Regions from separate parts of the Homo sapiens genome. Here regions 2, 3 and 4 are each linked to region 1. Evidence: promoter capture Hi-C in 16 types of primary human blood cells and fetal thymus (Javierre and others, 2016). All regions are on one chromosome and are shown on one strand. Each heading gives the region's core, a stretch centred on a gene start or on the middle of the fragment in contact. The rest is flanking DNA. Distances are from core to core; before and after follow the strand shown.

What was found. Contacts are between HindIII fragments. The CHiCAGO score rates a contact against its expected background, and 5 or more counts as called.
Region 2: a fragment that was not itself captured here is called in contact with the fragment with the promoter of MRTFA-AS1 in region 1 in 3 of 17 cell types (endothelial precursors, megakaryocytes and erythroblasts); the score reaches 6.5 in endothelial precursors.
Region 3: a contact is called between a fragment that was not itself captured here and the fragment with the promoter of MRTFA-AS1 in region 1, in 1 of 17 cell types (endothelial precursors). The highest score is 5.2, in endothelial precursors.
Region 4: a contact is called between a fragment that was not itself captured here and the fragment with the promoter of MRTFA-AS1 in region 1, in 3 of 17 cell types (endothelial precursors, erythroblasts and megakaryocytes). The highest score is 5.3, in endothelial precursors.

The regions. Positions count from the first base shown.
Region 1 is chr22:40,518,640-40,524,536 of GRCh38, forward strand. MRTFA-AS1 (MRTFA antisense RNA 1) reads left to right here and starts at 3,161. Exons shown (of 4, transcript NR_109965.1): 1 at 3,161-4,334; 2 at 4,727-4,801; 3 at 4,886-5,079. The region is part of intron 3 of MRTFA (myocardin related transcription factor A); the gene reads right to left. The HindIII fragment of the contact is 4,880 bases long and covers 1,266-5,897 here.
Region 2 is chr22:40,868,667-40,874,556 of GRCh38, forward strand. It overlaps XPNPEP3 (X-prolyl aminopeptidase 3), which reads left to right. Exons shown (of 10, transcript NM_022098.4): 2 at 333-449. Among named protein-coding and RNA genes, the nearest start is that of DNAJB7, 9.5 kb to the left of the region's middle. The HindIII fragment of the contact is 3,923 bases long and covers 1,477-5,399 here.
Region 3 is chr22:40,778,631-40,784,061 of GRCh38, forward strand. SLC25A17 (solute carrier family 25 member 17) reads right to left here. Exons shown (of 9, transcript NM_006358.4): 5 at 379-495. Among named protein-coding and RNA genes, the nearest start is that of MIR4766, 33 kb to the right of the region's middle. RefSeq lists an enhancer at 3,435-3,934. The HindIII fragment of the contact is 1,123 bases long and covers 3,142-4,264 here.
Region 4 is chr22:40,813,005-40,819,099 of GRCh38, forward strand. The region is part of intron 1 of SLC25A17 (solute carrier family 25 member 17); the gene reads right to left. It overlaps MIR4766 (microRNA 4766), which reads right to left and starts at 954; the gene lies at 879-954. RefSeq lists an enhancer at 4,315-4,374. The HindIII fragment of the contact is 625 bases long and covers 2,133-2,757 here.

The sequences.
Region 1 (5,897 bases), core at 1,911-4,410:
AAAAAATTAGCTGGGTGTGGTGGCGGGCACCTGTAGTCCCGGCTTCTCAGGAAGCTGAGGAAGGAGAATGGCGTGAACCCAGGATGCGTAGGTTGCAGTGAGCCAAGATCATGCCACTGCACTCCAGCCTGGGCGACAGAGTGAGACTCTGTCTCCAAAAAAAAAAAAAAAAAAAAAAAAAACCAGTGTCTGTCTTTCCTCTTCATGCACTGTAAACTCTAAGTGTTAGCTATTATCATTTTAAATATATTTATTTTTGCTGGAATTCTTACAAAATCCACTTAGAATTCGATATTCTAGACATATGTCTCTTTTATGTTTTCGTGATTTTTGTTTTGGAGGCTTTTGGTGGTGGTGGTGGTGGTTTTGTTTTTGGGGTTTTTTTTTTTTGAAGCAGGGTCTCACTCTGTTGCCCAAGCCAGAGTGTAGTGGCAGGATCTTGGCTCACCGCAACCTCTGCCTCCCGGTCTCAAGGGATGCTCCTGCATGATCTCTTTTAATAAAGTTAGTCTAATCTGTGCTTAAGGGAAACAATAAAAAAGATGTGTCCACCTGTGAGGCAGAATTTTAAATGGAAAACTACCCCTGAGTTTAGGCTTGGTGGGACCCGAAAAATGAGTGAGGATGGGTACATGGCGTAGAAGGAAATTTGAGGATAAAACTCAGGGCCACCTATAGAGATGGTCCTTCTCACTTAGAGACTACCCTCTAGAACTCTTCTCAAACCTTGGAGGGTTTTGTGTAATATTTCATTTAGTCAGCTCACTTCTTGGAAAGAGATCAGGGTTGAGAGATGAAGGCGATGTTGTTTTAGCGTTACCTACCAGTGCTGCCCTCTCTTCTCATGCTTGCTTACTTCCTTCAGGAGTCATTTTAACTCCAACCTCCTTGTGTCCAAACTGGCTCAAAGCACTCCAAAGTGGAGGTGAAAGGCAATCACGCTGATTTGTTATACCCAATTTGAGACATTTTTCTGTTGTACATAAAAGCAAAAAAGAAATAAAAGCAATAGAATGTTCCATAAACTTAAAAAAAATGTTATAACAATCACACCCACTCATGGGTTCTGAAAAGCACAATAATGGAGTCAGGCTAGTACAAACGCCTAAGAGCAAAGTCTGAGTGAAAGTGATCAATCTAGTTTCACTTTGGAAACTGGATAGAAACTAGCAACGGAAGTCAGACTCTATGAGGTAATTTTTGCAATAGTTGTTGGCCTTATAATTAATAAGAGATAAGATAATTTTAACCTAAAGGTCATTTTAAGCTTACAACAACTAGAGATAATTTTATTATAAGTTTTAAAAACTAACTTTATTGAACTTCAATTCAGACACAATAAACTTCACCTAGTGTACAATTCAAAGCGTTCTGACAATTGCATATGCCTGTATAACCACGACAATAAAGAGATATATTTTCATCCCTAGGGTTTTCTTGTGTCCCTTTGTATTCAATTTCTCCTTCCACTTCCAGCCCCAGGCAATCACTGATCTGCTGTCACTCTAGAGAAACCTGAATTTTTTTCCTCACACAATTTAAAAAATTGAGATACAATTCACATACTATAAAATTCAACCATTCAAAGTGCATAATTCCATAGTTTATCGCAACTAATTCCAGAACATTTTCATTGCCCCAAAAATAAACCCTGTATCCATCAGCAGTCACTCTCCATTTCCTGTTCTGGACATTTCATTTAAATGGAATCACACAATATGTGGCCTTTTATGTCTATGTCCTTTCATTTGGAAAATGTTTTTAAGGTTCATCATTTTTTTTTTTAAGACGAGTCTCGTTCTGTCACCCAGGCTAGAGTGCAAGTGGCTTGATCCCCGTTCACTGCAACCTCCATCTCCCAGGTTCAAGCGACTGTTGTGCCTCAGCCTCCCGAGTAGCTGAGACTATAGGCACATGCCACCAGCCTGGCTAATTTTTCTGTATTTTTAGTAGACATAGGTTTCGCCATGTTGCCCAGGCTGGTCTCAAACTCCTGGGCTCAAGCGATCCACCTGCCTTGGCCTCCCAAAGTACTGGGATTATAGGCATAAGCCACCACACAAGGCCAAGGTTCATTCATTTTATAACATATATCAACAGTGATTTCTTTTTATGAGTGAATAATATTCCATTGTATGGATATACCATATTTTGTTTATTCATCAACTGAAAGACATGTGGGTTGTTTCCACTTTTTAGCTATTTTGAAAAAGCTGCTATGAACATTTGTCTGTGTAAAAATACACAGACAAATGTTTTCAGTTTTCTAGGATATATATCTAGAAGTAGAATTGCTAGGTCACAGGATCTATGTTTAACTTTTTGAAAAGCTGCCAAATTGTAGTTTTTAAACTTTTCATTCTGAGATAATTATAGATTCACATAATAAGAAATAATAAACAGCTCATGTATAAACTTTTCATTCTGAGATAATTATAGATTCACATAATAAATAATACAAAGAGCTCATGTATCCTTTACTCAGTTCCCTCCAATGATAACATCTTGCAAAACTACAGTACAATATTACAACCAGAATACTGGCACTGTTAGTCAACATACACATTTCCATCACCCTGAGGATCCCTCATGTTGACCTTTTATAGCCACATCTACTTTCAGCCCCACACCATCCACAGGCCCTGACAATATGAAGAACCAATCTGTGCTTCATATCTATAATTTTGTCATTTCAAGAATGTTATATAAATAGAATCATACAATAGGTAACATTTTAGGATTGGCTTTTTTCACTCAGAGTAATTCTCAAGAGTCATTCAGGGTGTTTTATTTCTAAAACGTTTAAAGTTTGCCCCTTTTTAAAAGTTGCTGAGCAGTATCCCACAGCCTGAATTAATTAATTAATTAATTAATTATGAGACAGAGTCTCACTCTGTCACCCAGGCTGGAATGCAGGGGTGCAATCTTGGCTCACTGCAACCTCTGCCTCCTGGGTTCAAGCAATTCTCCTGCCTCAGCTTCCCAAGTAGCTGGGACTATGTGTGCCCGCTACCACGCCTGGCCAATTTTTGTATTTTAGTATAGATAGGGTTTTACCATGTTGGCCAGGCTGGTCTCCAACTCCTGATCGCAAGCGATCCACCCACCTTGACCTCACAAAGGGCTGGGATTACAGGCATGAGCCACCACACCCGGCCTCAAATGAATTTTTGGGATGGTACAAGGTAAGAGTCAATGTTCCCTCTCTCTCTCTCCTTTTTTTTTTTTTAAGACGGAGTCTTGTTCTGTTGGCCAGGCTGGAGTGCACTGGCACAATCTCGGTTCACTGCAACCTCCGCCTCCCAGGTTCAAGCGATTCTCCTGCCTCAGCCTCCTGCGTAGCTGGGATTACAGGCGCACGCCACCACGCCCAGCTAATTTTTGTATTTTTAGTAGAGACGGGGTTTCACCATGTTGGTTGGCCAGGATGGTCTCGATCTCCTGACTTCGTGATCCACCCACCTCGGCCTCCCAAAGTGTTGGGATTACAGGCGTGAGACACTGCACCCAGCCCTCTCTTAATTTTTTTAACATACAGATAGCCAGTTCTTTCCTGATTTGTAAGTTTTTATTTAAACCAGAGTTAGAAAAATAATTAAAATAACACTACCTCTAAACACTCAAAACCACTGCTATGACATAATCCTGCCATTTCAGTAGAACAGAAAATCCCCACGCCTTCCCCTCAGCTCGGAGGGCACAGGACTGGGCAGCAAGCTCCACCAGTTTGTAGAAGGAGTTCAACTTCCAGACAGCAGGGAAATGCCTTTCTCTGAAGTTATTACATGAGTTCACACTGAAGGGAAAGAAGAAAGTGAGCCTTATCATTTTCCCAAGATGCTGTGAGATGTGTTGGATTTACTCTCACTCATAATTGTGCAGGATGGTTGTTTTGTTTTGTTTTGAGGCAGGGTCTCACTCTGTCACCCAGGCTGGAGTGCAGTGGTGTGGTCTCAATTCACTGCAACCTCTGCCTCCAGGGTTCAAGCAATTCTCCTGCCTCCGCCTCCCGAGTAGCTAGAGTCACAGGTGTGCACCACCATGCCTTGCTAATTTTTGTATTTTTAGCAGAGATGGGGTTTCATCATGTTGGCCAGGCTGGACTCCAACTCCTGACCTGAAGTGATCCGCCCCCCTCAACCTCCCAAAGTGCTGGGATTACAGACGTGAGCCACTGTGCCTAGCCACAGGTATGTTCGGGATGGTTTCAACCAACATCAATAGAACCAACTAAGAATAGATGGCCTTCAGCAACACAGAGGGGTAGCACAGGAGTTCCAAAGATCAGTAGTTTGAAAATCAGGTCACAGGGAGTCCACGCTATATGATCTTGGGTAAGTCACTTAACATTCTTAGCCCCCCGTCTGTTCACCTGTAAAACCAAGGTTTGTTATCAGGTCATGTCTAAGATCCTTCCCAGTTAAACATTCTAGAATGCCAAAAATAAGCCTATTTGTTCTTTCTTTGAAAAATGAAGAAAAATGGCAAAAAAAAAAAAAAGTTGTCAAATTGTGAACGTTTATCTAACACAGAGAACTATACCAGGAGCAGGTTTTCTTTTTTGTTTCCTGTTTTACCCTATTCTTCCATACTAATTAGACATCATATAAATCCCACATATAAATCCAACACATCTCATAGCATCTTGGGAAATAAAAATAAAATATCTTTTGGAACTGAACTTCTCAACTTTAATATGCATGTGACAATCTTTTTTTTGAGATAGGGTCTCACTTTGTGGCCCAGCTGGAATACCGTGGTGCAAACACGGTTCACTGCAGCCTTGACCTCCCAAATTCAAGTGAGCCTCCCACTTCAGCCCCCTAAGTATCTGGGACTACAGGTGTGTATCACCATGCCTGCCTAATTTTTGCATTTTTTGTAGAGATGAGGTTTCACCATGTTGCCTAGGCTGGTCTCAAACTTCTGACATCAAGCAATCTGCCCACCCTGGCCTCCCAAAGTGTTGGGATTACAGCTGTGAGCCACTGCACCCGGCAAATAATCTTTTTAAAACAGATTGTGATTCCGCAGGTCTGAGGTGGCGTCTGAGATTCTGCATTCCTAATAGGCTTCCAGGTGATACAAAGGCTGCCAGACCTTGGAACATACTTTGAGTAGCAAGGTATTAGAAGAATACGGACATAGTATCTGTTTGAGTAACCTAATTAATGTTGATACCTAAGTTTTCAGTACTTTACATAACCAAATAAATTAGTCTTATGGCACTGATTTGAGGAATATAATCTTATCGATTCCCAAGAGAATATACTAAGAAAACAGTTCAAAAAATCAAGTTTAATTAATATTTTAGTTCCTCAAGATCCTATTTGCAAGGAAAAACAGAAAAACAGAAAATCAGAAAGATACAGCATCATGAATTGTTAAGGACAATTTTCACACCCTATAGTCAATGAGCAAAATATATTGCAGAAATGCACTTTCAAAAAATTAAAACAGGCTGGGCAACATAGTGAAAACCTGTCTCTCATTAAAAAAAATTTTTTTAGCTGGGCCTAGTGATGTGCACTTGCAGTCCCAGCTACTCAGGAATCTGTGGTGGGAGGACCACCTGAGCCTGGGGAGGTCCAGCCTGCAATGAGCTGTGATTATGCCACTGCACTCCACCCTGGGCAGCAGAGTGAGACCCTGGCTCAAAAATAAAAGCTACACAAAAAAATAATTAAAACATTGTATACTAACACCACCATTTTATGCCTACAACAAATCAGATTATTCTTACCCAACAAAAGCAAACAAAAAATTTAACGTGTTGTTTTTTGACAGAAAACTTCTGAGAGGTTCAGCAAATTGAGAGTAAATGAGTGTACACAGGAAGGAGCCACAGCTCTGCCAAGAACATGGCCTAACACAAACACTGCAAAGATAAATTTCAA
Region 2 (5,890 bases), core at 2,188-4,687, 350 kb after region 1:
CAACAGGATTAAACCCCGTCTCTACAAAAATTAGCCAGACATGGTGGCACGCACCTGTAATCCCAGCTATGTAGGAGGCTTGAGGCAGGAGAATCACTTGAACCCAGGAGGTGGAGGTTGCAGTGAGCCGAGATCATGCCACTGACTCCAGCCTGGGTGACAGAGTGAGACTCTGTCTTAAAAAAAAAATAAATGAATATTGAAGGAGAGAAGGAAGGAAATATTAGTTTGCATTTTTCTAAAGCATCTAAACTGCTAGAGATAAGTGTATTTATACCATGAAGACTTTCTAGATCTATTGTTTCATTTCATTCTCTTTATTCTTCATTCAGGATGTATGTTGTGTTCACAGCGAAGGTACTCCCTTCAGCCTGTCCCAGAAAGGAGGATTCCAAACCGATACTTAGGCCAGCCCAGCCCCTTTACACACCCACACCTCCTCAGACCAGGTAAGGCCTTTTAACTGTGCTATCTCCCCATTTAGGTTCTGTCTAGAGCAATGCTATGCAATAGAACTTCTTGCAGTAAGCTCTGGATCTGTGCTGTTCCATAAGGTAGCCACTAACCTCACATGGCCATTTTACACTAATAAGGTTGCTAGTACAGCTGAGGAGCTGAACTTTTTATTTTATTTAATTTTAATTAATTTAAATTTAAGCTTAACTACATGTGGGTACTGGTGCTTTATTGACAATACTAGTCTAGAACAAGGTTTAAATATGATAGACCTTATAATTCAGAATAATTAATGAAAGGTATGTATTTCAGGATGTTTTTAAAGCAAAGTTCTATTTCTAAGTCAGCTTTTAGAATTGTATACTATTGTGAATTACTGTGTTAAAGACATTTTAGAAAACATGTTTTTTCTTGAAATTATCAAATATTTACTTTAAAATTATAACCTATTTCTATATAGATTAAGCAAGATTTCCAGATTTGTTTGTCACAGATTTGAGAGGTAGTATCCCAGTTGATAAAGGTGATGCAAAAAAATGATAAAGGTTTGTTTTACTAATTTTTTTTTCTGCTATAAGATCCCAGCGTTGCTGCCAGAAGATGTCTTATAACTATTGCTCAAATTTAGACCTAAAGGTTTTTTGTTTTGATTTCTTGCACTTAAGGGGTGAACTATGACTAATGAATATCTCAGAGAGGAAGGTAGGGTAAAAGCAAACACATTGTAGAAAAAGCAATCAGGTTTTCAAGGAAAATTAATTGTTCTTTCTGCCATAAGAAATTAAATATGTATTTGCCATATAAGCATATATATTACTAATGGAAATTTACCTTTAGAAATATGTTCCTTTTTCACTATCCCCACTCAGTGAATGATACCAGTATGTTTCTCAGTGAGGGCTTCCTTTTGCTGATTTTTCATCAGACTCGAATTCCTGCTGGGAAGTCGGCTGAAACTAAGGAAATGCAGCTCACCACTGAAACCCACAAGAAATCAGAGTTTTTCAAAGCTGTAAGGTAAGCTTAATAGCAACCCAGTTGGTATTAATTTTAGTATTTATCTACCCTATCAACCTACCTGTAGACTCGAGTTATTTTTTTAAGTAGAATTGATAGTTTTACCAGCTTTGAAAATTACTGATTTCTTGTGGTGAGATATTTTTACATGGTAAGCTGCATTTTCCAGGCCTTAAACCTAGTAATTATATTGTCAAGATAATGGCCTCTGTATCTAGATTTTTTTGCTCTATACCTTAAGTGCATGTTAAGTATAAGTGAATGTAAATAAATATGTACACGTATATGTTCACATACATATGTATGTGAATATCTGGGGGAAAAGGGATGCCTGTCCTAATTTTACTCTCCTAGACGTGGGATTTTGGACATTGGGGTAAGTGAGAAGGGATGGAAGTAGATGGAATTTTAAAACAGAATTATTAGTATTTTAAACCTCAAACTATCAGATGTACCATTAGGTACAGATTTTTCTGCAGACAAAAGTATCAAAAGAATTAATCATTTGTGTTTCTCCTTCCAGAGATGCAAAACTTGTGGAAGTGTTAAAGTGATTGTAGGGTGAAGCAGAGTAAATTTTTAAGAAAAATTAAAAGGGGCCGGGCGCAGTGGCTCATACATGTAATCCCAGAACTTTGGGAGGCCAAGGTGGGTGGATCACCTGAGGCCAGGAGTTTGAGACCAGCCTAACCAATATGGTGAAATCCTGTCTCTACTAAAAATACCCCCCAAAAAAAAAATTAGCCGGGTGTGGTGGCATATGCCTATAATCTCAGCTACTGGGGAGGCTGAGGCAGGAGAATCACCTGAATCTGGGAGGCGGAGGTTGCAGTGAGCCAGAATTGTGCCACTGCACTCCAGCTTGGGGGACAGAGGGAGACTCTGTCTCAAAAAAAAAGGAAAAAAAATTTAAAGGCATGTAATACTTAAAAAGTCTCTTAGGCCAGGTACAGTGGCTCACGCCTATAATCCCAACACTTTGGAAAGACAAGATGAGAGGATCACTTGAGGTTAGGAGTTCGAGACGAGCATAGGCAACATAGCAAGACCCTGTCTCTATAAGAAATAAAAAAAATTAGTGCTCCTGCCTATAGTCTCAGCTACTCGGGGGACTCAGGTGGGAGGATTGCATGAGCCCAGGAGGTCAAGGATGCAGTGAGCTGTGATCATGCCTCTGCACTCCATCTTGGGTGACAGAATGAGACCGTGTCTCTCTCTCTCAAAAAAAGTCTCTTACGCAGTTGGCTTGTTAGTTTAGGATATAAAATTATGTAATGTGCACTTGGTTTCTCCAAAAGGTTTCATGTTTTGCATATTTCTCTAATACATGGCAGTATGTACTTAATACTTTTGGGAAACATCTCAATGCCTTTCCTAATTATTACGCAAGTTCTATACATACAGAAAAAGAGAATACAGGTAAGCATAGATTTTTTTTTTAATTACTAATAATCCCACAACTCAGAGAAAGCCACTGTTGAGAGGATTTTGGTATATGTTTCTTTTTAGTCCTATTTCTTACATAGGTGTATGTGTGTATAAGTGTACATGTGTACACATTCTTTGCATATTGCTCTATTATTTCCTTAAATTCTTAGAAGTGAAATTACTGGGGCCAGGCGCGGTGGCTCACACCTGTAATCCCAGCACTTTGGGAGGCTGAGGTGGATGGATCACGAGGTCAGGAGTTCGAGACCAGCCTGGCCAACATAGTGAAATCCCGTCTCTACTAAAAATAGAAAAATTAGCTGGGCATGGTGGCGCATGCCTGTAGTCCCAGCTATTCAGGAGGCTGAGGCAGGAGAATCACTTGAACCTGGGAGGCAGAGGTTGCAGTGAGCTGAGATCACGCCATTGCACTCCAGCTTGGGCAACAGAGTGAGACTTTGTCTCAAAAACAAAAACAAAAGTGAAATTACTGGGCCAGTTCCTCTGAATTCTTGGGAGCTATTTTTCCTAGATTTTTCTTTGCCATACCTACCTATCCAAGTTTCCTGAAGCATCAATAGCTTGGAAAATATTTAGCAGGATGATACAGGAAATAAAGAAATTCTGTTCTGGCTGTGCTAGGTTCTGTGATTTTACGGCTAGGTTCTAGTGATTTTCAAAACTTGTCATTTCCTTAGAGAAATCTGAGCACTGTAGACCATTTCTGCTTTTTATGACAGTGCCATCTCTGTGCTAAGGTCTGTATCGGTAGAGATGGAAAATGTTGGTCAGTCTCTTTGATTACTACCTTGTCTCACACTTGACACTCAGACATGAAAATGATTCCATGTAGGAAGGCAAGTGGCATTCTGAACTGTGAGTCTACTTTTTTTTTTTTTTGAGACGGAATTTCGCTCTTGTCGCCCAGGCTGGAGTGCAATGACACAATCTCTGCTCACTGCAACCTCTGCCTCCCGGGTTAAAGCAGTTCTGCTGCCTCAGCCTCCCAAGTAGCTGGGATTACAGGCGCCTGCTACCACATCCGGCTAATTTTTGTATTTTTAGTAGAAATGGGGTTTCACCATGTTGGCCAGGCTAGTCTCGAACTCCTGACCTCAGGTGATCCACCCGCCTCAGCCTCCCAAAGTGCTGGGATTACAGGTGTGAGCCACCACACCCAGCGATATTTACAGATTGTACAGATTATATTATATTATCTGTACAAGAAAGATGCTTCCATGGTTCCCTGATTATTGCCAAAGGAGTAATGTTGTCATTAGCAGGACAGCAAGACATTCATCTCAAAAAAACACTGAAACATATCAGAGAATGAACGGGAAGAATCAGTGGAATTCCTAATGAAGCATTATTTCTAAAATTTTTACATTCTTAAAATTAGTTTTAGAATATGTGGTATAGTTTGGAATGCTAGGTTTAAAAAGGGCTACTCAGGGAGTTGGGCTTGTCAGAATAACTTGTCTGACATATGTAGAACCACTTCATGGTTGTTTTCTTTTTCTTTTTCTTTTTCTTTTTTTTTTTTTTTTTTTTTTTTTGAGACAGAGTCTCGCTCTGTCGCCCAGGCTGGAGTGCAGTGGCGTGATCCGGCTCACTGCAACCTCCGCCTCCCAGATTCAAGCAATTCTCCTGCCTCAGCCTCCAGAGTAGCTGGGACTACACGTGTGCGCCACCACACCTGGCTAATTTTTGTATTTTTAGTAGAGAGGGGGTTTCACCATATTGGTCAGGCTGGTTTTGAACTCCTGACCTTGTGATCTGCCTGCCTTGGCCTCCCAAAGTGCTGGGATTACATGCGTGAGCCACCATGCCTGGCCCACTTCTTGGTTTTCAACTACAGCAGCAAACAGATTTTTAGGGAAATAATCAGAATGCAACTGTGTGGCATGAAATATAAGACGATGCTTTCACCATTTACCGTTTCATCTCTATCGTCAACTATAATGGCAGAAGCCAGGTGCGGTGGCTCACGCCTATAATCCCAGCACTTTGGGAGGCCTGGGCAACGTAGTGAGACCTTATCTCTGCAAAAAAGTAAGCAAAATTAGCTGAGTGTGTTGACAGATGTCTGTAGTCCTAGCTACGCCTATAATCCCAGCACTTTGGGAAGCTGAAGTAGGAGGATTGTTTGAGCCTGGGAAGTCAAGGCTGCAGTCAGCTGAGATTGTGCCACTCCACTTCAGCCTAGGCAACCGAGCAAGACCGTCTCAAAAATAAAATAAAATAGAAATAAAATAAATAAATAAATATAATGGCAGAGACAGTACAGTTACAGTGAATATAATATTTAAAATGATGAAATGATTGATTCTAGAGTGGGTTATAGATAATAATCCCCAAATCTTTTTCCCTTAAGAGTTTCAAAATCAGCTGCCCATCTTTCAGTGATAGTTTAATTGTAGCCGTCTCTTGAGCAAGGGATGCATTTTATTTTTAAAACTTGTTAAATATGGTTGATTTTAATAATATCTAAAAGACAAAGCTTATTTTGGTGGTGGTAAGATTTTTATACTATTTAAAAGATTAAAATGATGCTTGATAACAACTTTGGGGAGTTAGGAAGAAAAATAAAAAATAAATAAAATGATGCTTGAGACCAGGAGGTCAAGGCCGTAGTGAGCCATGATTGCGCCACTGCACTCTAGCCTGGGTGACAGAGTGTTACCCTATCTCAGAAGAATTTAAAAAATTAAAAGGAATCAAGAAATAACAGAAATTGGAAGTGGTTTGAACCTGCCTAGACTGTTGGGTAAGCTTTTTCAAAATATACATACGTGCTAGGACTCTATAAATAGAGTTGTTGAATGAGAATCTCAAAGGGAGGGCTTAGAACATGTGTTTTTGTTTTTGTTTTTTTTGAGACAGGGTCTCACTCTGTTTCCAAGGTTGGAGTACAGTGCCGAGATCATGGCTCACTGGAGTCTTGACCTCCGGGGGTCAAACAATCTTCCTGTCTCAACCTCCTGAATAG
Region 3 (5,431 bases), core at 2,453-4,952, 260 kb after region 1:
ATATGTATATATGTGCCATGTCGGTTTGCTGCACCCATTAACTCATCATTTACATTAGGTAAAAGCAATGGCAACAAAAGCCAAAATAGACAAATGGGATCTAATTAAACTAAAGAGCTGTTGCACAGCAAAAGAAACTACCGTCAGAGTGAACAGGCAACGTACAGAATGGGAGATAATTTTTACAATCTACCCATCTGACAAAGGGCTAATATCCAGAATCAACAAAGAACTTAAACAAATTTACAAGAAAAAAAATCAAACAAACCCATCAAAAAGTGGGCAAAGGATATGTTATGTAGCTTTATGTGGCAACATATTCCAGATACAAAGAAGGAAGAAAACCCTTAAATAGGAATTCAGCAAAGAGATACTTACCAATGATACCTTTGTAGTTTGTTGGTACAATGTCTTCATTCCTAAATTTTGCTCCTTGAAGCTTCAGTCTGGTGTTTACCACCCAGAGTGGAGTTGTTAGCAACACATTAACCACTCCTTTAACAAGAAAGATGGAGAGAAAAAGGGAAGGCAAAATGTCAGCTTTTAAGCTTTGCTGCTTTAAAGCTACATACCAATATTCCATTTATATCTCTGTCACTGACCTCTTAGGAGACCTAAGGTAAGGTGTCTCTTTGTGCCAGGGTACAACACAAGCCACTACTGTTAGAAGCGATTTGGAAGCTTTGCTGATAGCAAAATGGCTGGCGGCAGCAGCTCTCCAGATGAAGAGCAATAAGTTCCCTCATTTGTACAACAGGCAATCTATTTGTCAATTTATATACCATTCAAAGTAGCAATTTTGATATAGCTTTAAATATAATTTTAACGTAACAGCTTTAGAGATGAGAGTGGCTTACAGCTAACATGCTAAGTCCATGACAATATCAGATAAAACACACAATTTACAACTCTTACTTAAGTAGCTCACACGGTTTGAAGTGAGTATGGATATGGTACAATGAGTGACAGGAGGGGGAAAGGTGGTGACATTTAAAAGTGCCTTAACAGAGACTAGAAGCTCGCTGAAGAGTTCCTCCTTGCTGAGAGCATTAGGATAGGCAGGCAGCAAGCATCAGGTAAGTGTCACAAAACACCTGAAACAGCTTCACAAGCATCATGATCCTTACAAGCTTAAGGATGGGGATCTTGGCCCCCCAAGGTTGCCTCAGAGTAGAACAATACAATGAGCCAGGTGCTTCTTTTTTGAAAACATATGATCCCAATTTAACACCATCTTGAGATATTAAAATATTCCTCACCAGTCCTGAAATGATTAAAAAAAAATACCAGATAGAATTGTAACAATGTGCCTGACACATGGTATATACTTTATAAACATTTGTTAAATAAATAGTGGAACAAATGAAGCAATGAACAAACTCAGTAAAAAAGCACACATCCAACTGTCTGGCTCTAGTCAAGATCTGAAGAACCAAGAGAAAAAATCCTAAGGAAGAGAAGTCTTTTACTAAAATCCATTTAAAGATAATTGAAGAAATAAAGTTTTGATTTAAGGTATCTCAAAATATTATATATAGGAAATACAGTCTAACCAAGGATAAACTTGACAAAACAGCCAAGAGATTCAAATTCAATTTTTTCATTAGTTGCATACAGTTGTTAAAGATATTTTGCTGCCTATCTCTAAGGAGCATTATAAGAGCACATTTCTCAAAATAAAAGGCATCACCTAATAATTTTATCAGTCGTATTTGTTATATTTTTATAGATTCACATAACATTAAGGAGTCATCTTTAGTTATAACTTAAAAGGCTCATACATTGTCACTGGAGGCATTGCCTATAATCTAAAAAACCCTTAGTTACAGATTCTTCCTAGTCTCATTTTTTCAAAAGCACCCATGCCCCAGAGGCCAGTATAGAGGGATATTAACACATTCCTGTTTGCCTAGATTTTAGAATGTATTCCTATTCAATGCAATGCACACTTCACTTAACAGAGAAAAACCAACAGCCAGAAAAATCAGACTAGAAAGTGCTATTGAGCAGTCTACTGCATTTGTTTTAAGAGAAAAGGAGGACAGGAGAGCTCAGGACCAGAGATCACAAGCTTCCACAGATACCGTAGAAAGGTATAGTGCACCCACCTTTCTAAACAAGTGAAATATGTTGCCTGTTAAATAAATTCTTCAGAAATAAAAATTTTCTTCATTTAAGAGGTAGGCACATACAAAAACACTTAGGAGGCAATGCAGCTAAGATTAAGATCTAACCATTCTTTAAAATTCTGCTTTCATGCCCAGTGTGGTGGCTCATGCCTGTAATCTTAGCACTTTGAGAGGCTGATATGGGAGGATCACTTGAGCCTAGGAGTTCAATAGCAGCCTGGGCAAAAGAGGGAGACTCCATCTCTAAAAAAAATATTAAAAATTAGCCAGGCAGGGTGGCACACTCCTGTGGTTCCAGCTACTCAAGAGGCTGAAGTGGGAAGATCGCTTCAGCCCAGGAGGTTGAGGCTGCAGTGAGCTGTGATCATGCCACTGCACTCCAGAGCTGGGCAACAGAGTGAGACCTTTTCTTATTAAAAAAAGAAAAAAGAAAAAAAAATCTGCTTTCATATCCCCATTATTAACACAAGCAGAAAGACTAAAAGGATTCTTTTTTTTTTTTTTGAGACGGAGTCTCGCTCTTTCGCCCAGGCCGGAGTGCAGTGGTTCTATCTCGGCTCACTGCAAGCTCCGCCTCCCCGGCTCACACCATTCTCCTGCCTCAGCCTCCCGAGTAGCCAGGACTACAGGCGCCCGCCACTGCGCCCGACTAATTTTTTGTATTTTTAGTAGAGACGGGGTTTCACCGTGTTAGCCAGGATGGTCTCGATCTCCTGACCTCGTGATCCGCCCGCCTCGGCCTCTCAAAGTGCTGGGATTACAGGTGTGAGCCACCGCACCCGGCCTAAAAGGATTCTTCTCAAGGACAACCTCAAGTACAAAAATGTACCACATTACTTAAATAACAGATTATAAAGTCCTTGTAAGAACATTTGGTATTTCAAAGCTTTTTATCTGAGAAGTTCAAGTACTTTTTTTCACTCTCTAAGCCAAAATAGATGGAGGAGTATTTTTTAACCAGTATAATTTTATGAGTTCTGAGAGAAGCTACTCAAAATACTTGAGAATCCGAAGCTTTACTAAAACTTGCAACCTATATCATCAAGCAAAGGTCAGCATTCCACTGAGAGAAGCATGCCACAAACCATTCGTGAGTACCAATTCCAACTCCTGACAGGCCCAAAGGATAAAGAAAATTGTCTGCTTTTTTGTAAGCCCGTGTAACTCTTCTGCCAGTTCCGGCCGGGTGCGGTTGCTCACGCCTGGAATCCCAGCACTTTGGGAGGCTGAGGCGGGTGGATCACAAGGTCAGGAGTTAGAGACCAGCCTGGCCAACACGGCGAAACCCTGTTTCTACTAAGAATACAAAAATTAGCCAGGCACGGTGGCGGGCGCCTGTAGTCCCAGCTACTCAGGAGGCTGAGGAAGGAGAATCGCTTGAACCCAGAAGGTGGAGGTTGCAGTGAGCCGAGATCGCACTACTGCACTCCAGCCCGGGTGTCAGAGCGAGACCCCATCTCAAAACAACAACAACAACAACAACAACAACAACTCTTCCGCCAGTTCCAAGCTGTGGATGCTACTTCCGCTCTAAAGTAGAAATACAAATTAATACTTTACCTACCAAAGGGCAGAAGACTGTTTTTTTTCTAATTCTAATGTCTATAATTCTATTTTCTTTCTTTCTTTTATGTAACAAATCATTTACAAGAAAGAATAAACCAAAATTAAGAGATGAATAACAGTAATTGAACACACTAAAATTATTCACTAAATCAAGGAACAATTAGAACACAGCTATTTACTCCTGAAATCTTGAAAACAATTAGTTTTATCAGCAGTGAGTCTCCTTTGTTACGGAGAGAAAACACAAACGAAGTAGGCTAATTGGGTATGCACTTCTGGAAAATATGTGCAATGACCATGGATATAAGAAAATGGCAAAACAAAGGCACAAATCTAACAAATCTCACTTGACTCCGTAGGAAGGAATGAAACTTTACACACAACAGGAACAAACCTGTCTTGCCAGATTTAAGGCCAGAGGGCAGGAAATACATTTTGAACTATCACAACAATGATAATACCTTTGGCATTCAGTAAGAGTTATTGCTAAAAATTCCAATTTCATAAAAATAAGTGTCTCTTCATTTATCTGTTAAGGTTCTGTTCCCACATTATTCCCCAAGATATGAAGCTTTATAGGCTTGTTTTTCTGGGAAAATACAATAAATAATAAATTTCTAAGTTTCAAGAAGAATTTGAAGAGCAACAACGCTGTTCCTAGTTCTCCTTAGAGATGATACAACTCATTTCTACAGTGATTATAATACTCACAGCAGGAAGAAAGCTGTTATAATTATTATAAAAATATGTACATATTAAGATATAAAAACTTGTTATGAAGAGAAGTTTAAAACTCACAAAAGTAATTTTCAAGGAACTCTCAACCTTCAGAAAAAGAGAAGACCTACAATCAGAGAATCTCACAATTAACAAAGGATTGTAAAATTCTTTAACCCAGAGTCTCCCAACTGTGACAGTACTAATATTTTGGGGTGGAAAATTATTTGTTGTGTGTGTATGTGGGCTCTTGTGTAGGATGATTAGCAGTCTCCCTGGCCTCTACCCACTAGATGCCACATTTGACCCTGTGGGTCAAAATCAGCCTCAGTGGAGAACCACTAATCTAATCCAATCACCAAGTGATTATTCCTTTTATTCTTTACAATTTCAAAACACAGGAATTCACTTTCACACCTGTTTTATTCCATTAGCTGTTACAATTATTTATTTTATTTTATTTTGTTTTTTTGAGACATGGTCTTGCTGCAGCCTCCTACTCCTGGGCTTAAGTGATCCTCCCTCCTTAGCCTCCCAAGTAGCTGGGATTACAGGCACATGCCGGCTAATTTATTTTTAATTTTTTACCATTCCCAGCACTGAAGTTAAAATATGTAGAGACAGCTTTAACTTGACTTAACACCATACTATCTAAAATGGTACCTCTTTTTTTCTTTTTTGGAGATGGAGTCTCGCTCTATCTCCCAGGCTGGAGTGCAGTGGCTCGATCTCCGCTCACTGCAACCTCCGCCTCCTGGGTTCAAGTGATTCTCCTACCTCAGCCTCCCAAGTAGCTGGGATGATAGGTGCCCGCTACCACACCCAGTTAATTTTTGTATTTTTAGTAGACAGGGGGTTTCGCCATGTTGGCCAGGTTGGTCTCAAACTCCTGACCTCGGTAATCCACCTGCCTCGGCCTCTCAAAGTGTTGGGATTACAGGCATGAGCCACCGCGCCCGGCCAATGGTACCTCTTTCTAACCCTCAGTACTCTCTATCCCTTCTCTGCTTAAATTTTGT
Region 4 (6,095 bases), core at 1,195-3,694, 290 kb after region 1:
AATGTAAGTCTTTTCCCTGACATAACAATCAAGCTAACTCATACATACACAGACAGATAGGCAAGTTACACAAATGGCCTCATGGATGACACTCTCGAGTGTTTAGGGATAAAATATAGGTTTACGTCCCAAGTATAGTATATATTACATAAGTAACTTCAAATCTCTATGTCTCAATTTCCTCATTTGTAATTTTGAGACCGGTATTTGTCAAGGTTGCTATGAGAAGTTAGAATCAAATTATGGAAAGTAGCTGGGCATGGTGGCTCACACCTGCAATCCCAGCACTTTGGGAGGCTGAGGTGGGTGGATCACTTGAGGTCAGGAGTTCGAGACCAGCCTGGCCAACACGGTGAGACCTCATCTCTACTAAAAATACAAAAATGAGCCAGGAGTGGTGGCACACACCTGTAGTCCCAGGTACTCTGGAGGATGTGGCAGGAGAATCACTTGAACCTGGGAGGCAGAGGTTGCAGTAAGCCGAGATCGTGCCACCGCACTCCAGCCTGGGTGACAGAGCGAGACTCTGTATAAAAAAAAAATACCCTCTCTATTAAAAATACAAAAAGATTAGCCGGGTGTGGTGGCAGACACCTGTAGTCCCAGCTACTCGGAAGGCTGAGGCAGGAGAATGGCGTGAACCCAGGAGGCGGAGCTTGCAGTGAGCCGAGATCACGCCACTGCACTCCAGCCTGGGCGACAGAGCGAGACTGAGTTTCAAAAACAAAAACAAAAAATTATGGTTGGCACCTAGCATCATACCAGGCACACAGGTGGCACTCAACAATTGTTGGTTTCTACATGTCCTTTATAGCTATAGTATCTGTTAGTAGTAGAAACCACTGTTAATTTTAGGGCCCTAAAAGGAGTAATGTCTTCTCAAGTTCCTTCCAAAAGAGCAATTGCTATTTAGTAAAAAATAAACACCAACTGCTCTTTCAGAAGGAGCTTCAGAAAGGTAGAAGGGTCAACAGTATAGAATACTTACAAAGAACTGGAATCAATTAAGAATGCAAAAACAGTCAGTAGATGTATAGAGCACTCTTGACATAAGTAACTCCATCTTAGAAAAAGACTCCTATCTTTCATTTCAAAAAGCACTTTGACAACAGGGACCAGATGTTTTTCCAGATAAAGACACAACCAAGCATGCTCTTCCACTATCAGTCCTTACCAGAAGACTCTGTGACCATAAAAAGAACAGGACTTAAAAAACTCAAAATGGTCTTAACAGACACTGTCTTGCTGTCACTTGTTATAAAAGCCTGATATCTGTGTCCAAAGGCTCTGCCCACATCAAGGATTCTTTCTTACAAGACCAACACACTGCCATGATGAAACCAGGATACTTGTCTATATCACTCTCCCCGGACTGGTTAGGTAACCCTTTTTCCTCACCCTTTTCTCTTGATGTTCAATGTTACTTTGTTGCAGAATGTTTAATCTACATCATTTATGTATTAATTAGGTATACTATTATATATGATTTACAATATTGACTGACTACCTAGTGAATGAGAAGTACTAATAAAAATTGCCTCCTTGAGAACTCCATGTAACTTGTCTTTTATAACTGAAATAACACAATAAAAGTCTGACATTGTGAAAAGACACAAATGTGTGTGTACCTGGTTATCCATGACCTTAAACCATTCACAATAGTAGATTAAGCTGTTAGGAAGTCAGAGTTGACCTTTGGAAGAACAGTTCCAGTGGTCAAAGTAGGATGAGGAAAGGCAGTACGTGCAGAATATATATATATATATATATATATATATATATATATTGTTGTTGTTGTTGTTGTTTTGTTTTGTTTTGGTTTTTTTTGTTTTTGAGACGGAGTCTTGCTCTGTCGTCCAGGCTGGAGTGCAGTGGCGCAATCTTGGCTCACTGCAAGCTCCACCTCCCGGGTTCATGCCGTTCTCCTGCCTCAGCCTCCCGAGTAGCTGGGACTACAGGCGCCTGCCTCCATGCCCGGCTAATATTTTGTATTTTTAGTAGAGATGGGGTTTCACCGTGTTAGTCAGGATGGTCTCGATCTCCTGACCTCGTGATCTGCCCGCCTCAGCCTCCCAAAGTGCTGGGATTACAGGTGTGAGCCACCACACCCGGCCCAGAATATTCTTTAAATAAGCTTAGCACAAAGGGAAAGAGAACAGGCAGAGGCTGAAGAAGCTACCAGATTCCAGATCAGATTGGTATAGTTTTCTGATGGGACAGACCTGACCATGTTTGAGGGCTGAACAGAAGCAGATACTAGGTTAAAGCTATAGGAAAGAGATGAAAATTACTGGAGCAAAGTCCTGGAAGAAAACTGGCCATGGGCTGGAGGGGAGGACAAAGATTGAAGGTAGCAGACACTGAATATGTCTATTTTTCCTCTGAGACCAGCAGAATGTAGAAAACACGAGTACAACTGTAATTGGAAAAAACTGAAAAAACTCATCCCAAGTAGGTTCTATTTTATCTAGAGAGTAAAAGGTAAGATCATCTGCAACAAGTGAAGGGAATGGGTGGAGATGGCCATGAGGCAAGAGAACATTTCAATTCCCTTAAATTTCTAAAACTAGGTATAAGTGCTGTATTTGCAAGAATATACTTGAGACAGAAATGAATAATTATGGTCTTACTACAACGTTCCATTATGCTAGATGCTCCACAAATATAATCACATTTACTTCCCACAAGAACCCAGTTAAGTGAGGCATTGTTATTGTCCCTGTTTTATAGTTCGATTGATGATGGCATTCATAGTTAAGCTTTACTACAGAACCTTTTTTTTCAGCTATTATGCCATATTTGCTTCTTAAAAAATTAAGTTATACAATACTATGTATGACGATATAATTTCATTAATCGTTTTTGATTCAGGCATAAACAAAGTTAGAAAAGTAATTCCAGGCCAGGCGCAGTGGCTCACGCCTGTAATCCCAGCACTTTGGGAGGCCAAGGCAGGCGGATCACCTGAGGGCGGGAGCTCAAGACCAGGCTGACCAACATGGAGAAACCCCGTCTCTACTGAAAATACAAAATTAGCCAGGCGTGGTGGCACATGCCTGTAAACCCAGCCACTCGGCGAGAGGCTGAGGCAGGAGAATCGCTTGAACCCAGGAGGCGGAGGTTGTGGTGGGCCGAGATTGCATCACTGCACTCCATGCACTCCAGCCTGGGCAACAAGAGCGAAACTCCATCTCAAAAAAAAAAAAAGAAAGAAAGAAAGAAAAAGAAAAAAAGAGAAAAATAGGCAACAAGTGAAAAAAAGAAGTATCTTTGTAGATTAAATAGAAATATATTACCACTATTGCCAGTCACTCTCTCTATAGCAGGAGTCAGAAAACTATGGCCTATGGGCCAAATCCAATCTAATATCTGTTTTTGAAAACAGTATTTTATTGGAACACAGCTCTGTCCATTCATTTACTGTCTACAGCTGATTTCACACGACCATGGCAATGTTGGGTAGCTGTGACAACGGTACACAAAGCCTAAAATATTTCCCATCTGCTCTCTTTAAAAAGTTTGCCAATCTCTATGTTCTTTTATAGCACTTAACTGTATCTAAAATTATTCTACTTATTTTTTATTTATTCATTTATTTTTTATTGTTTTTTTTTTTTTTTCTTGAGACGGAGTCTTGCTCTTGTCACCCAGGCTGGAGTGCAATGGCACAATTTTGGCTCACTGCAACCTCTGCCTCCCAGGTTCAAGTGATTCTCCTGCTTCAGCCTCCCGAGTAGCTGGGATTACAGGCGCCCACCACCATGCCTGGCTACTTTTTGTATTTTTAGTAGAGACGGGGTTTCACCATGTTAGCCAGGCTGGCCTCGAACTCCTGACCTCAGGCGATCCGCCTGCCTCAGCCTCCCAAAGTGCTGGGATTACAGGCGTGAGCCACCGCACCCAGCCTATTCATTTATTGTCTGACTCCCCTATTGCAATGCATAGTTCATGAAGAAAAAGACCTTCTCTACTGTACTCCTTGCACCTAGAACAGCGTGTGGCACATAGAATGCACTCAATAAAGGTGTTTAATGAACATTTATTGCAAGAAGGAAGAGAAAAACATTTCCCATCTTCTCACTTTCTTCTCTTAGATGCACTCCAACTATTTCCCCCACCACTCCACCAAAACTGGTCTTTTCAATTAACCACTGGATTTATCAACATGATAAATTCTCAGTTATTTCTCAGTCCTCACCTTACTTGACCCATCAGCAGCATCTGACCCAGCTGGTCTACTTCCTTCCCCAGAAACACTTTCTTCACGTGGCTTTCACTCTTAGTTCTTAGCTTCCCTCCTGCAGTACTGATCCATCCTTCGTTTGTCTCCTTTGCTGGTGCAATCTTATTTTCTCGGCCTCTTAATGGTTAGCCTGCTCCAAGACTCAGTCATTGAGATTCTTCTGTCAGTCCATACACACTTCCCTAGTGAGCTCATCTAGTCTCACGACTACTCTTAGGCATTTCAAACTCCTCCAAAACCAAAGCCAAATTTATCATTTCCCCCAAAACCTTCTCCTTCACAGCCTCTGCCATCCCAGTAAATACCACCATCCCTCCAGTTACTGAAGCCAAAAACTCTTGGAGTCAACCAACCCTCATTTTATAAATATATTCCAGGTCAATGATCACTTCTACCATGTCTGCTACCACCCGGATCCAAGTCACCATCATCTCTCGCCTGATAATTGCTTGTCCCCTGTTCCCTTACATTCTACTCTCAACACAGCAGCCAGGGTGATCACGTTTAAAGGTAAATCAGCAAGTTCAACAGCTAGCCAGAGTGAAAGTCTCACACAATTTGGCCCCCTGAAACCTATTTGCCTCTTTGTTCCCTCCACTCCGGAAACACAGGCCTCCATGCCCATCTTAAAGCAAGTCACGCAAGCGTCCATCTCAGCCTTCATGCTGGCTGAAAGGCTCTTCTGGCTGAACTGAATGAACCAGGCTTCCTGAATTAGGCATTTTCATGAAATGCTGTGTCACTTAATTCTCTAAACTCTGTGAGGTAGGTATCACTTCCCCCACTTTACAGATTAAGAAAGTAAGGTTTACAGGGCATCTAGCTAACAAATGATGGAGTTAGGGTTAAATCCAGATTAGTCTACAGAGAAGGTGAGCTCTCAGTGAAGTTTCTGGAGGCTAAACAGAGGATTCAGTGATGTTCCTCTGAAGTCACAGTGATTTTAACAGCTAAAGGTGTGTGCTAACAACTGGTGAAGAATATGAGAAAAGGCAGTCAAAGAGATAAAAGAACCACAAGAGGAGTCACCCAAGCCAAAAGTGGAAAGTTTTAAGGAAAAGAGGGGAGAGGGGAAGTGTCAAGTGGAACCTAGACACCAGAAGCCCAAGAATCAAGCGTATACCTCATAACAAACCACACTTGTGGTAGACAGGAACCCAGATCTTGATTTAGAAAGAAAGAAAAAAAAGCCAGGCACAGTGGCTCATGCCAGCAGTTTAGGACGCCAAATCGAGAGGATCGTTTGAGGCCAGGAATTCGAGACCAGCCTGGGCAACACTGCCAGACCCCAAAAATTTTTTTTAAAAATGTAGCCGGGTGTGGTGGCTCACACCTGCAGTCCCAGCTACTCAGGAAGCTGAGGTGGGCGGATCGCTGGAGCCCGGGAGATCGAGGCTGCAGTGAGTCGTGATCGCGCCACTGCACTCCAGCTTGGGCAACAGAGCAAGACCCTGTCCGGAAAAAAAAAAAAAAAAAAAAGGATCTATCTTCTCCTGCCAATAACGGTGCCCAGAGCTATCCTACTAGGTATTGCCACTTGCCCGCGGCAAGCGTGAAGACAGGCTGTAGGGAAGCATGTGACTAAGCAACACGGCTTCACACCTACGTTCTCCTCCGGGCCAGTAAAGCAAAGTGTGTGAGTGTGCGGTGGTAGCCTGACCTTAAACTTCCCACGGCAAAGATGCGGACCCTGAGCGGGCACGTGTGAACACGGCTCTCTACCCCGCAGTCTCTAGGAGACCAGGAGGTGGCGGAGTCTCGGCCCTTACCCCGAATTCCTCCAACAACTTTCCGCCAATGGCCCATTCCTCTCTGCCCCACAGTCATGACAGTGGACCCCAACCCACACTAC